Linked DNA regions of Homo sapiens: region 2 is linked to region 1. Evidence: promoter capture Hi-C in 16 types of primary human blood cells and fetal thymus (Javierre and others, 2016). All regions are on one chromosome and are shown on one strand. Each heading gives the region's core, a stretch centred on a gene start or on the middle of the fragment in contact. The rest is flanking DNA. Distances are from core to core; before and after follow the strand shown.

Region 1 (5,659 bases), core at 1,315-3,814:
AATATTATTTTCTATATAGTATAAAAAATTCACACGGTCTCACAGAATGATAGAGGGAAATTCACACTCACTATCTAGGGTATTAAATCTCCAAGACTACATTCTTCTCTTAATAAAATTGACCTTTGCTAATGTTAAAATTTTTTTATTTAATACTTTAGGAAATAGCTGTGCAATGTTTTAAATGAGTGAAAGAATGTGGGAACTTGGAAAGAAATGTTAAGAAGTCCCATGTTTTTATTCATGGGAACATTGCCTCATAAATCATTTTTGTACTATCATGTTTACTAATTGTGTGGATTTATTAGAGTTCTTTTTGGCCAAAATAATGGTGAGCTACCTGTGTTTATATTAACTACTTTCCTGTCAGCCTGTAGTAGTTTGCTATTATTTTACTGTGATTATTATTTTTTCTCTAATTCCCATCTTCTGTACTACCAGTTCTAGCCTAGTCTGCTTGTATTTCCTCCTCCTTTATTTGTCTAAAAAGATAAACAAGCTTTAATTTGCAAAGGACATGGAGAGTTATGGATACATGATGACCTCTTAAGAACTTCTCCAATGCCAACATTCCTGCAACAAGTCTTAAAATCAGTAGTGTCATATTATTACTATTTATTCTAATATGTGTCCTTAAAAGTTAAAATGATAGAACTAGTTGAAATAGCAAATAACATTTGAAATATTTTTCTGAGATATAATGCAAGAGATAATAAGTATAAAGAGTAACAACACCCCCTGAGTTAGTTGTTTACAACCCTGACTGAACATTGAAATTGCCTGGGGAAGATTTTAAAATTACTGACGCCTAGATCTATTGCCTAGAAATTCTGATATAATTGGTCTGGAGTGCAGCATGGACATGAGATGTTTTTAAAACTTCCCAGATAATTCTAAACTACAACTAATGTTGAGAACCACTGGTCTCAGACTATCTCCAGATTATGTTATTAACCTTGACTACCCATTATAATCAATGGATGTATTTTAGAAACATAGCTTCCCAGACTCCAGGTCCAGAAATTCAAATTCTATTTTTCTGGGATGGAACCAGGCATTGTGTTTCTTATGTGCCCTAATTTTAACGTGAAGTTAAGGTAAGAATTATTGCTCAAGAAACCAAGAGGTTTAACATCGCAATATGGGAAGGTATGATATATTATCATTGTGTTTTTTTTAATTGTTGTTTTATTGATGACAAACCATAACCTTGGCCTGCTAGAAGAGTTCAATGGCACAAATTTAGTTTTTTTTGTTTTAGACGGAGTCTCGCTCTGTCTCCCAGGCTGGAGTGCAGTGGCACAATCTGGGCTCACTGCAAGCTCCACCTCCCAGGTTCACGCCATTCTCCTGCCTCAGCCTCCCGAGTAGCTGGGACTACAGGTGCCCATCACCACGCCCAGCTAATTTTTTTGTATTTTTAGTAGACACGGGGTTTCACCGTGTTAGCCAGGATGGTCTCGAACTCCTGACCTTGTGATCCGCCTGCCTCGGCCTCCCAAAGTGCTGGGATTACAGGTGTGAGCCACAGCACCCGGCCCACAAATTTAGTTTTTTAAAGTAAGTAACTTTGTCTTAAAAATGATTTGTAGTAATAGTCATTAAAAGATAAACTGAGGCACATTAAAATATTAAAGCATTTATTTGACCATTCAGTGATTCATGAATCTGGTAGCTCCTGATAAAGGAGCCAAGGAGAAGGCTTTTATAGGGTGAATTTGGAAGCAAAGGAAAGATATTTGATTGGTTAAAGTGGAGTACTAGACTTATTTGGGTCATCCCAGTGGAAAGTCCCCAGTTAGAAGTTAGCTGGCAGTTTCTGATTGATTAAGCTTAAATTTCCTTTTTATCATTTACACTGATTTGGGTTTCCTTTCCTTAGGTAGGAACTCATGGAGCTGAAGCTACCTCAGCCTACTGGCCTTCTAATTATTTCAACACAGAAATAGTACTTTACGGCACACTGGAGTTGCAATTCTATTCTGCAATTGGGTGGTTTCAGATTTGTTCTTCCTATAAATTTTGGTCAAATTAGTCATTGCATTTCTTTCTATAAGTCTGAGATTCAGATATTTGGTTGCTCTGAGAAAGTCTCTGTTGAGATAGCATTGCCATACTGGTCAGATTGAAAGTGACTTTGTATCCTTTCTATTAATGTTCTGATATGAAAGAGTGATGACTCGGATATAGTGTTAATGCATTAAAAAAGCACAGCCTGACAAATCGCTTCCTATAATACACAGAAAAATGTCTAGTCTTGAATTTATAACACAGGGAAAGGTAAAAAATTTAATTATGCTTCCTAATGTTGAACATGCACGTGACAAAGTAAATACTAAAAATCCATTCAGCTGGGCGTGGACAGGGAGAGGGAACGGTGCACATCAGAGGGTGCAGGCTACTCCAACGTTTCCGTTTCCTCAGTCTCGCGGGAAGCTCCGTTGTGGGCGCCCCGGCTGGTGGCTGAGCTCAGGCCTTCAGGCAGAGGGGAGGCGAGGGCGGGGCGGTCACGTGAGAGCACTGCCGCGGTGGGTTGTGGGGGTGCTGCGGCGCCGTTTGCTTTGCCAAACCGACAAAAGAGAGATGATGGCCAACGACGCCAAGCCCGACGTGAAGACCGTGCAGGTGCTGCGGGACACAGCCAACCGCCTGCGGATCCATTCCATCAGGGCCACGTGTGCCTCTGGTTCTGGCCAGCTCACGTCGTGCTGCAGTGCAGCGGAGGTCGTGTCTGTCCTCTTCTTCCACACGATGAAGTATAAACAGACAGACCCAGAACACCCGGACAACGACCGGTTCATCCTCTCCAGGGGACATGCTGCTCCTATCCTCTATGCTGCTTGGGTGGAGGTGGGTGACATCAGTGAATCTGACTTGCTGAACCTGAGGAAACTTCACAGCGACTTGGAGAGACACCCTACCCCCCGATTGCCGTTTGTTGACGTGGCAACAGGGTCCCTAGGTCAGGGATTAGGTACTGCATGTGGAATGGCTTATACTGGCAAGTACCTTGACAAGGCCAGCTACCGGGTGTTCTGCCTTATGGGAGATGGCGAATCCTCAGAAGGCTCTGTGTGGGAGGCTTTTGCTTTTGCCTCCCACTACAACTTGGACAATCTCGTGGCGGTCTTCGACGTGAACCGCTTGGGACAAAGTGGCCCTGCACCCCTTGAGCATGGCGCAGACATCTACCAGAATTGCTGTGAAGCCTTTGGATGGAATACTTACTTAGTGGATGGCCATGATGTGGAGGCCTTGTGCCAAGCATTTTGGCAAGCAAGTCAAGTGAAGAACAAGCCTACTGCTATAGTTGCCAAGACCTTCAAAGGTCGGGGTATTCCAAATATTGAGGATGCAGAAAATTGGCATGGAAAGCCAGTGCCAAAAGAAAGAGCAGATGCAATTGTCAAATTAATTGAGAGTCAGATACAGACCAATGAGAATCTCATACCAAAATCGCCTGTGGAAGACTCACCTCAAATAAGCATCACAGATATAAAAATGACCTCCCCACCTGCTTACAAAGTTGGTGACAAGATAGCTACTCAGAAAACATATGGTTTGGCTCTGGCTAAACTGGGCCGTGCAAATGAAAGAGTTATTGTTCTGAGTGGTGACACGATGAACTCCACCTTTTCTGAGATATTCAGGAAAGAACACCCTGAGCGTTTCATAGAGTGTATTATTGCTGAACAAAACATGGTAAGTGTGGCACTAGGCTGTGCTACACGTGGTCGAACCATTGCTTTTGCTGGTGCTTTTGCTGCCTTTTTTACTAGAGCATTCGATCAGCTCCGAATGGGAGCCATTTCTCAAGCCAATATCAACCTTATTGGTTCCCACTGTGGGGTATCCACTGGAGAAGATGGAGTCTCCCAGATGGCCCTGGAGGATCTAGCCATGTTCCGAAGCATTCCCAATTGTACTGTTTTCTATCCAAGTGATGCCATCTCGACAGAGCATGCTATTTATCTAGCCGCCAATACCAAGGGAATGTGCTTCATTCGAACCAGCCAACCAGAAACTGCAGTTATTTATACCCCACAAGAAAATTTTGAGATTGGCCAGGCCAAGGTGGTCCGCCACGGTGTCAATGATAAAGTCACAGTAATTGGAGCTGGAGTTACTCTCCATGAAGCCTTAGAAGCTGCTGACCATCTTTCTCAACAAGGTATTTCTGTCCGTGTCATCGACCCATTTACCATTAAACCCCTGGATGCCGCCACCATCATCTCCAGTGCAAAAGCCACAGGCGGCCGAGTTATCACAGTGGAGGATCACTACAGGGAAGGTGGCATTGGAGAAGCTGTTTGTGCAGCTGTCTCCAGGGAGCCTGATATCCTTGTTCATCAACTGGCAGTGTCAGGAGTGCCTCAACGTGGGAAAACTAGTGAATTGCTGGATATGTTTGGAATCAGTACCAGACACATTATAGCAGCCGTAACACTTACTTTAATGAAGTAAACTAGGCTTATTTCTAAAAAGTCAAGTCTATTGGCTTTGGCCCAAAAGCACTGGTATCTTTGTATTAAATTCATGTTTATTGTCACAAAACCATTATTTATACCTATACAGTTGTACTGTTTCTTTTAAAGCAAAGCCATTTAACATCTTTCTTCATTCCTAATTTGGAAATTAAAGTTTACCTTTCTGTTAATCTATGTATAAATGTTACTCTGAGTTATTAATGTGGATTTTAAAATTGTAAGCAATAGAATAGGAAATAAAACAACTACCTAATACAAATATTTCTGATAAGACTACAAATATCTGACTGAGCTGGGGATTAAAGTAGAGGTAACTGTATCTTAAATGAGTATGATTTCCTTGTAAGTTAAAAAAATTGAAATTTAATTGTAGACTTCAATAGTCCAAGTTTTGAAGGATGTTTGAGCTTTTGTATAATGCCATTTATACCTGCAGTTTTACAGATAATGTTTGACTGCAGTTGCCTTGGAAATTCCTCCAAAGTTTGCCTTCATCTCTCCTCTACAGTTTGGAGGTGATGGTGCAGCAGTGGAACATCTCTTGATGCACCACACTACTTGTGTTCTGTGAAGTGATGAAAGTATAACTGGTTCTAGTTTGCACACTACACACATAGTTTTGTGAAGCTTCAGAAATGTTTTTTCTTTTCCTTGTGGCCAAACCAGTTTGTTAATCTGATTATATTCATCTGCTAATGATACTAAAGTTAATGTAATAAAGCATTTAAAAATCAGATACTTCAGTCTGTGCTGTGTATGTGGGATTTGATTTCTTCCTGATGAAATCCTAAATAAGGAGAACTTGTGTCTAAATAAGAAACAGAGAGAGTCATGACCCCCAGAAGCAAACCTGGAAAAAGGTTGAAGCTGGAGATAAGTTACTAGAGAAGATTGTATGGACTAAAAAGCCATCCCTTAAGCAGACTCCTGACTTTTGGCTGTCAGTGTGTAAATATATGCTTGGAGTACAAGAAAGTACCAGTCAGGCAAATCATAGATGGACCCAAGGTTCCAAACTAAATTAAATTACTCTGTGTCTATGTCAGGTAATTATTTCCTTACTTTTATTACCCTCATTAAGTTCTTTGGAGGCATAACCAATTTGTCTCAGCAATCATTGTCTTAGGAGGTATAATAGAGCCAAAAAATATTAATACTAACCTGGGAATTAG
Region 2 (5,473 bases), core at 246-2,745, 220 kb before region 1:
TACGTTACAGTTGATCCAAAAGCTACAGATAAGTTATATAGGTTTACTATAGTATATGTGAGATTATCAAAATATCTTGGATGTGAAAAAGGCAGCTTTCAATTATCCATCACTTAAGTTTTTAATACTTTTTTATATTAGTGCTTGTTACTGCTTTTTAACACACATATTACTCACAAATAGGTTCCTCAAGAAGAAAAGTCAGCCAAATCTTGCCTTTTATTTCTTCTAGGGTAAAGGATCATTACATTTAACTAGCAACAGTGTAATATGTATCTCCCAAGAAAAACCTTTCAAAAGCCAACTGTCAAAAGGAAAGAACGGCTTGTACTTCCAATTCAAGTCAACAGAATTTTCTTTTAAATAAAATCCTTTGCTTTTTGGTGTGTGTAGGAAGCAGCTCACAAAATCTAATCTGTTTATGAGAAGAAATTCAAAAGCCACTAGCTTAACAAAATGATATTTCAGTTAGTTTCCATCATTTCCTATTACATTCACTAGACTTCATTTACATGACAGAGAGTCATTTCAATTCTTCAGTTAGTCTCTACCTTAAAATATCTTACAAAATTTCAAGGTAAAGTTTATAAAATGTGCACACCAGTTAATTCTGCAATAAATAAAGATGCATGGGATAGTCAGTACAATTTCAGTACAATTTACTCAACAAATATTTTTTGATGACGTACTGTGTACAAGGTATTCTATGGTTCACAGCATTTTAAATAGGTGTTTTCTTCTGATCCAATATATACTTTAATTTTACTTCTGTAAATCTTCATCTCTCCATATTTTTCCAGACTTGCCTTTAAGATCCCAAAGTACTTTCCAGCAAGGTCAAGGTGAAAGTGTTTCTTATGTATAAAATGTACTGAGAATTCTTTTCAGCTGAAAACCTGAGCCAAGTGTTTGCACCTCTGAACAGGTGTTTAATGTTCTGATTTATTGAGAGATCCATTTTGGTTTGCTAACACAATGGACCTATAAATCATCTATCCCTTCAGACTATATACCTTTAGAGGGTAAGTTTGGTAGGTTGATGAAGTAAAGTAGGATATATAATTAGGAAATAACTAGAAATGAGGTGGACTAATTTGAGGACTTTCAGAGACCCTGAGTTAAGGTCTGTCCTGAGACCAAAGTTGAGGAAATGGGTATAAATTTAGTTTAATTATTCAAGGGAGAAGATAAGAAAGTCTGAGACCTTCTTATGTCCTGAAGCATGTTATTTATATACACTCACTCCTTGGGCGATCTCATTTAGCCTCATAACTTTATATATAATCAATAGCCCAACAGCTATCAAGATATTTTTAGCTCAAATCTCTGCCATAAATTCCAGACTCAAAATGGTAATCAAATTTCCCACAAAATGTGTAATAGGAATCTGTCTTAGGTCAGGTTTATCACAGCAGATCCTGAGATGATAATTTTTTTGCAATGACTCACTATGAGAATATTCCTAGGACAAGACATCCAAGGAGTAAGAAAGGCAGCCCAGGGAAGAGAAAGAAGTCAGAATTTCCCTGCTCCTGCATAGGGATTCTGGAATGTAAAATGCACTTCACTTTGTCCCCTCTTGAGGCAAGGGAGCAAGGCTTTCATCCTCCAGTATTTGCCATTCATTGGCTCAGGGTCATTCAGGGTGAGAAAAACTCCCAGCCATTTTGATTCTCTTTACATGCAGGTAAACTGTCCAAGAAGCCAAAGGGAAGTTTTCCAAAGAGAATTGCAGTAGTGGGACTTTAGAAACAAAAGCACCCAGAAGCCAAAGGAGATGTGTACTGAACCAGTGAGAGGGACCCAAAGGGATTTTGGTGGAATACTCACAGCACCTGCTGTCGTCCATCCTTTGAGCCACCCAGATCCACATGAACTCATTTCATCCTGTCATGGATTTGTATAGATGATGATTGGCCACCGTTTCTGAGGAGAAACTTAAAAGACATTGATTAGCCGAATGGGCTCTCACTACTTGCAGCTGCAAAGTTATAACTGATTCATCATATCCTTCTTCTGACTCATTCCAAATATCCTTCATTCTTGATGATCACTTCTGTTAGTCTAAGTGGCTTGCTGGTGAAGTGTCTCTGACCTTTGAACCTTATCATGCTGTAGTTGCTGTAATCACTTATTTGAAGTTAAACCTGGGTGTGGGTAAACGAAAATATGCAACAGTGGATTTCCGCAAATTTCAAAATATTTCTTGCTCTCCCAAGTAGCAGCAACCCTACTTTCTTATAATGAGTTAGTTCCATTGTTCAATAAATTGCTGCTCTGCCTACTGGACAATATAACATGTGTTATTAAGCTCATGAGGGATAGTTCCAGTCATATGGTCAACTGATGTCCATACAAAGGCCTTTAGTCTTACTATGGCCAGGTAGCTTGTTAGGAGCTGCTTTCCAAATGGTGAAAGAACTATGCTGCAATAGTATGGCCTTGATCCAGAACACTAGGGTTTTCACTGCAGTTCTCCATTCAGATTTGACAGAGAGCCCACATTGCATTTTTATTTATCATGGTACCTCTAGTAGTATTGCCATTTATTATTGCTGTGGCATCAAGGGTGCTTGTATTGCAGCTGATATTGCTGCAGAACCTTCTATCATTCTAGGCCCCACTCAGAACTGCAGCTTTCTGAGTCATCTGTTAAAGAGGCATCATTCCAAAATGTGGTTTATGCTGTGTTTAAAATTCAAAGAGTTCTACCAAACAGCCTGGGTCCTTCTTGATAGTAAAGTAAAATGCAAAATTTGGTCTTAACTCTGGAAGAAATGCACTAGCATGCAGTAGACTACAGAATTTCTAAAAATTTCACTGATTTGTCCAGCTCCTGAAGATACGTTCGTTTTATTTCCTACTCTCTGGGACACAGATATCCTAACAAAGCATTCAGATTATTGGCCCTTCCTGCTCATTAGACCTCATTATACCTGATGATATCATAAATACAATGGACTGTTCTGATATTTGACAACCACTGGACATTTGAGTCTACCTCCTATCTGTTTTGCAAAATATCCCTGGAACAGGACCATGATTGTATATTAACGTCCATGCCAGATGAATACAAACTGCTTTTGATCCACATTTATGACAAATATTGAAAAGAACACATTCGTGGATTAATAGCCTCATACCACATGCCAGATATTGTGTTGTTCTTCTCTAGTAAAGATATTACATACCGCACACAACAGCTTCAGTTAGTGCTTCTACTTGGTTGCATTTGCCATGATCTACTGTCATTTGCCTGACCTACCAGTTTTCTACAGGGAACAGACCGAGAAGCTAAATGGTGACATGGTGGAAACAATCATCCTTATATTTTTTAAGTCTATTTTTCATACAACAACCAAAATGATCCTTTCCAAATATCAGTTAGCTAATGTCTTGCTGCTGTTCAAAACCTCTAATGGTTTTCTATATTACTTGAAATAAAACATAAATTCTTTCAGGGGCCAAGGAGCCATAATCCAGCCCTGTGGTATCTCGCTAATTTTCTTCTCATTCTTCCTCTTAATAACTCATGTCCAGACACACTGACTTCCTCTTGTTCCTCAAGCATAGGTTTTGTTTTCAGGGCATTTGCCCTTCATGCTGCTGCTGCCCAGAATGCTCATTGCCCACACAGCACTAAGATTGGTTTCCTTGTCTCTGTTACATTTCTACTCAAATACCACTTTATCAGTGAGGACCTATTTCCTTTGCTACTTATTTTTATTTAAGAATTTTATCATAATCTGCAGTATTATATATTTTTTATTGGTTTAACTTCTATGAGGGCAATAACTATTTCTTCACTCAAGGCTGCTTCCTCAGCCCCAGAAGAGGGACTGATAAGTAGGACACACTCAACAAATATATGTTGAATTAATGAATAGAGCCTGCTTTGTTTTGTTAACTTATAATACATAAGTTCTTAACATGGGATCTGTGGACTTATGAGCAATGATCCTTGGGCCACGCCAGTCCGTGAACATGTGACCAATACACACAAGCTTCCTGATCCCGTAGGGAACCTCTGCCAGACAAATTGCACCACATGTTAACCCTCTCTTGAGGAAAAGCAGTCAGTCTCCCCATCTCTGTCAAGCAGCTATTGGCCTGTTGGGGTAGGAGAGTATATAGACTTTTGGCTGAGAAAGTTCCTGTTAGGCCAAAGGTGATTCTCCAGAGAAGGGAGTAGCTATGATCATCAGCCACACAGCAGCTGGGTAATGTGGGCACTGGCCTGTAGTAAACATCTGCGTGGGGAAAAACCTCCACCATTGATGACTGCTTGGACCACTGAGATCCATTTAAGTTTCAAATTAAGTTTGTTTCACCTCAACATAGCTTCTCCAGGATTTTGGTTGGTTACAGTTTGTAGGAAACTTATAAGAAAAGGTTAAGTGGAATGAAACAGAGCCCTCATTGTTGCATCTGGTTCACAGGTCATAACTGATACTCACCATTGTTTTCACCCATTCATTTTAGATTCCTTTCACCTTTTTCCAGCACTTATGCTGCTCTGGGTAGCTTGCCTGAGAAATCTGAGTCCCTGGCTGCCATTCTCTTATCAGGCCATAATTTCTATATTTCTCCACTTACAGCCACACTAGTGCGAGGGAAAGAGATGTCCTAGTATATCACTTGAGGGACATATGTATTTCTCCTGTCACCATTATGTGGCAGAATTTTCTCATGCTGTCATCCATCACCAACATCTGAAGTCTCAGTATCTGACCTACTAACATGGGGCAGGATTCTGCCTAACATGGTCTCTAACCCAGGGATTCACCTTATAGCAAAAAATGGTGTGGCAGTGAATATATGATCATGACATTTACTGGGATTAGCACATAGCCTACCAGCCAGATGCTGCCGGCCTGATACAACAATTCGATAGCCTTTTGAAGATGCTTGAGAGGCATCAGCTTGGAAAAGGCACCCTGGGAAAATGGAGCTAAATCCCTCAGGATGCAGCATATTTTTTGAATCCACAGCCATAAAATGACGCTTTGCCTTATATACTTATAATACTTGGGCCCAAGAACTAACAGGTGCAAGTGACCCTGCTTATCATCACTCCCAGTGGTCGCCTTGGGGAATTTGTGCTTCCCACAGCCAGCGCTTTGGGCTCTGCAGGTTTATAACTTCTGGTTCCCAGAAGGAGATGTAACGCTCCCAAATGAGAACAAAATAAGAGTCCAATAAGCCTAAAGCTTTGATTGATGCCTGGCACTTTGAGCTTCTTATGATAGGAGCCTAGCAAGTCCAGCAATCTGTTACCATTCTAGCTCGCTTTGGTTAGCCTGTTAAATTATGTCTAAGGCTTCCTGTTGTATTCTGGCAGTGATAGGGAGAGGAGAGTATGAAATATATCCCCTCCTTTTTTCTTCAGTAATATGGTCCTTAAATTGTGTAATCTTTATTTATTTGCTGGTTTCTTTCAGCATTAGTCCACATTCAGCTTCTTCAGCCTTTC

Evidence for each region. Contacts are between HindIII fragments. The CHiCAGO score rates a contact against its expected background, and 5 or more counts as called.
Region 2: a contact is called between a fragment that was not itself captured here and the fragment with the promoter of TKTL2 in region 1, in 1 of 17 cell types (monocytes). The highest score is 7.1, in monocytes.

Annotation. Positions count from the first base shown.
Region 1 is chr4:163,470,659-163,476,317 of GRCh38, reverse strand. It overlaps TKTL2 (transketolase like 2), which reads left to right and starts at 2,564. Exons shown (of 1, transcript NM_032136.5): 1 at 2,564-5,223. The coding sequence starts at 2,584. The coding sequence ends at 4,464. The HindIII fragment of the contact is 3,282 bases long and covers 1,835-5,116 here.
Region 2 is chr4:163,690,583-163,696,055 of GRCh38, reverse strand. The region is part of intron 5 of MARCHF1 (membrane associated ring-CH-type finger 1); the gene reads left to right. It overlaps LOC107986325 (a long non-coding RNA gene), which reads right to left. Exons shown (of 3, transcript XR_001741915.3): 2 at 1,831-1,926. Among named protein-coding and RNA genes, the nearest start is that of TMA16, 200 kb to the right of the region's middle. RefSeq lists an enhancer at 1,304-2,503. The HindIII fragment of the contact is 5,023 bases long and covers 1-4,006 here.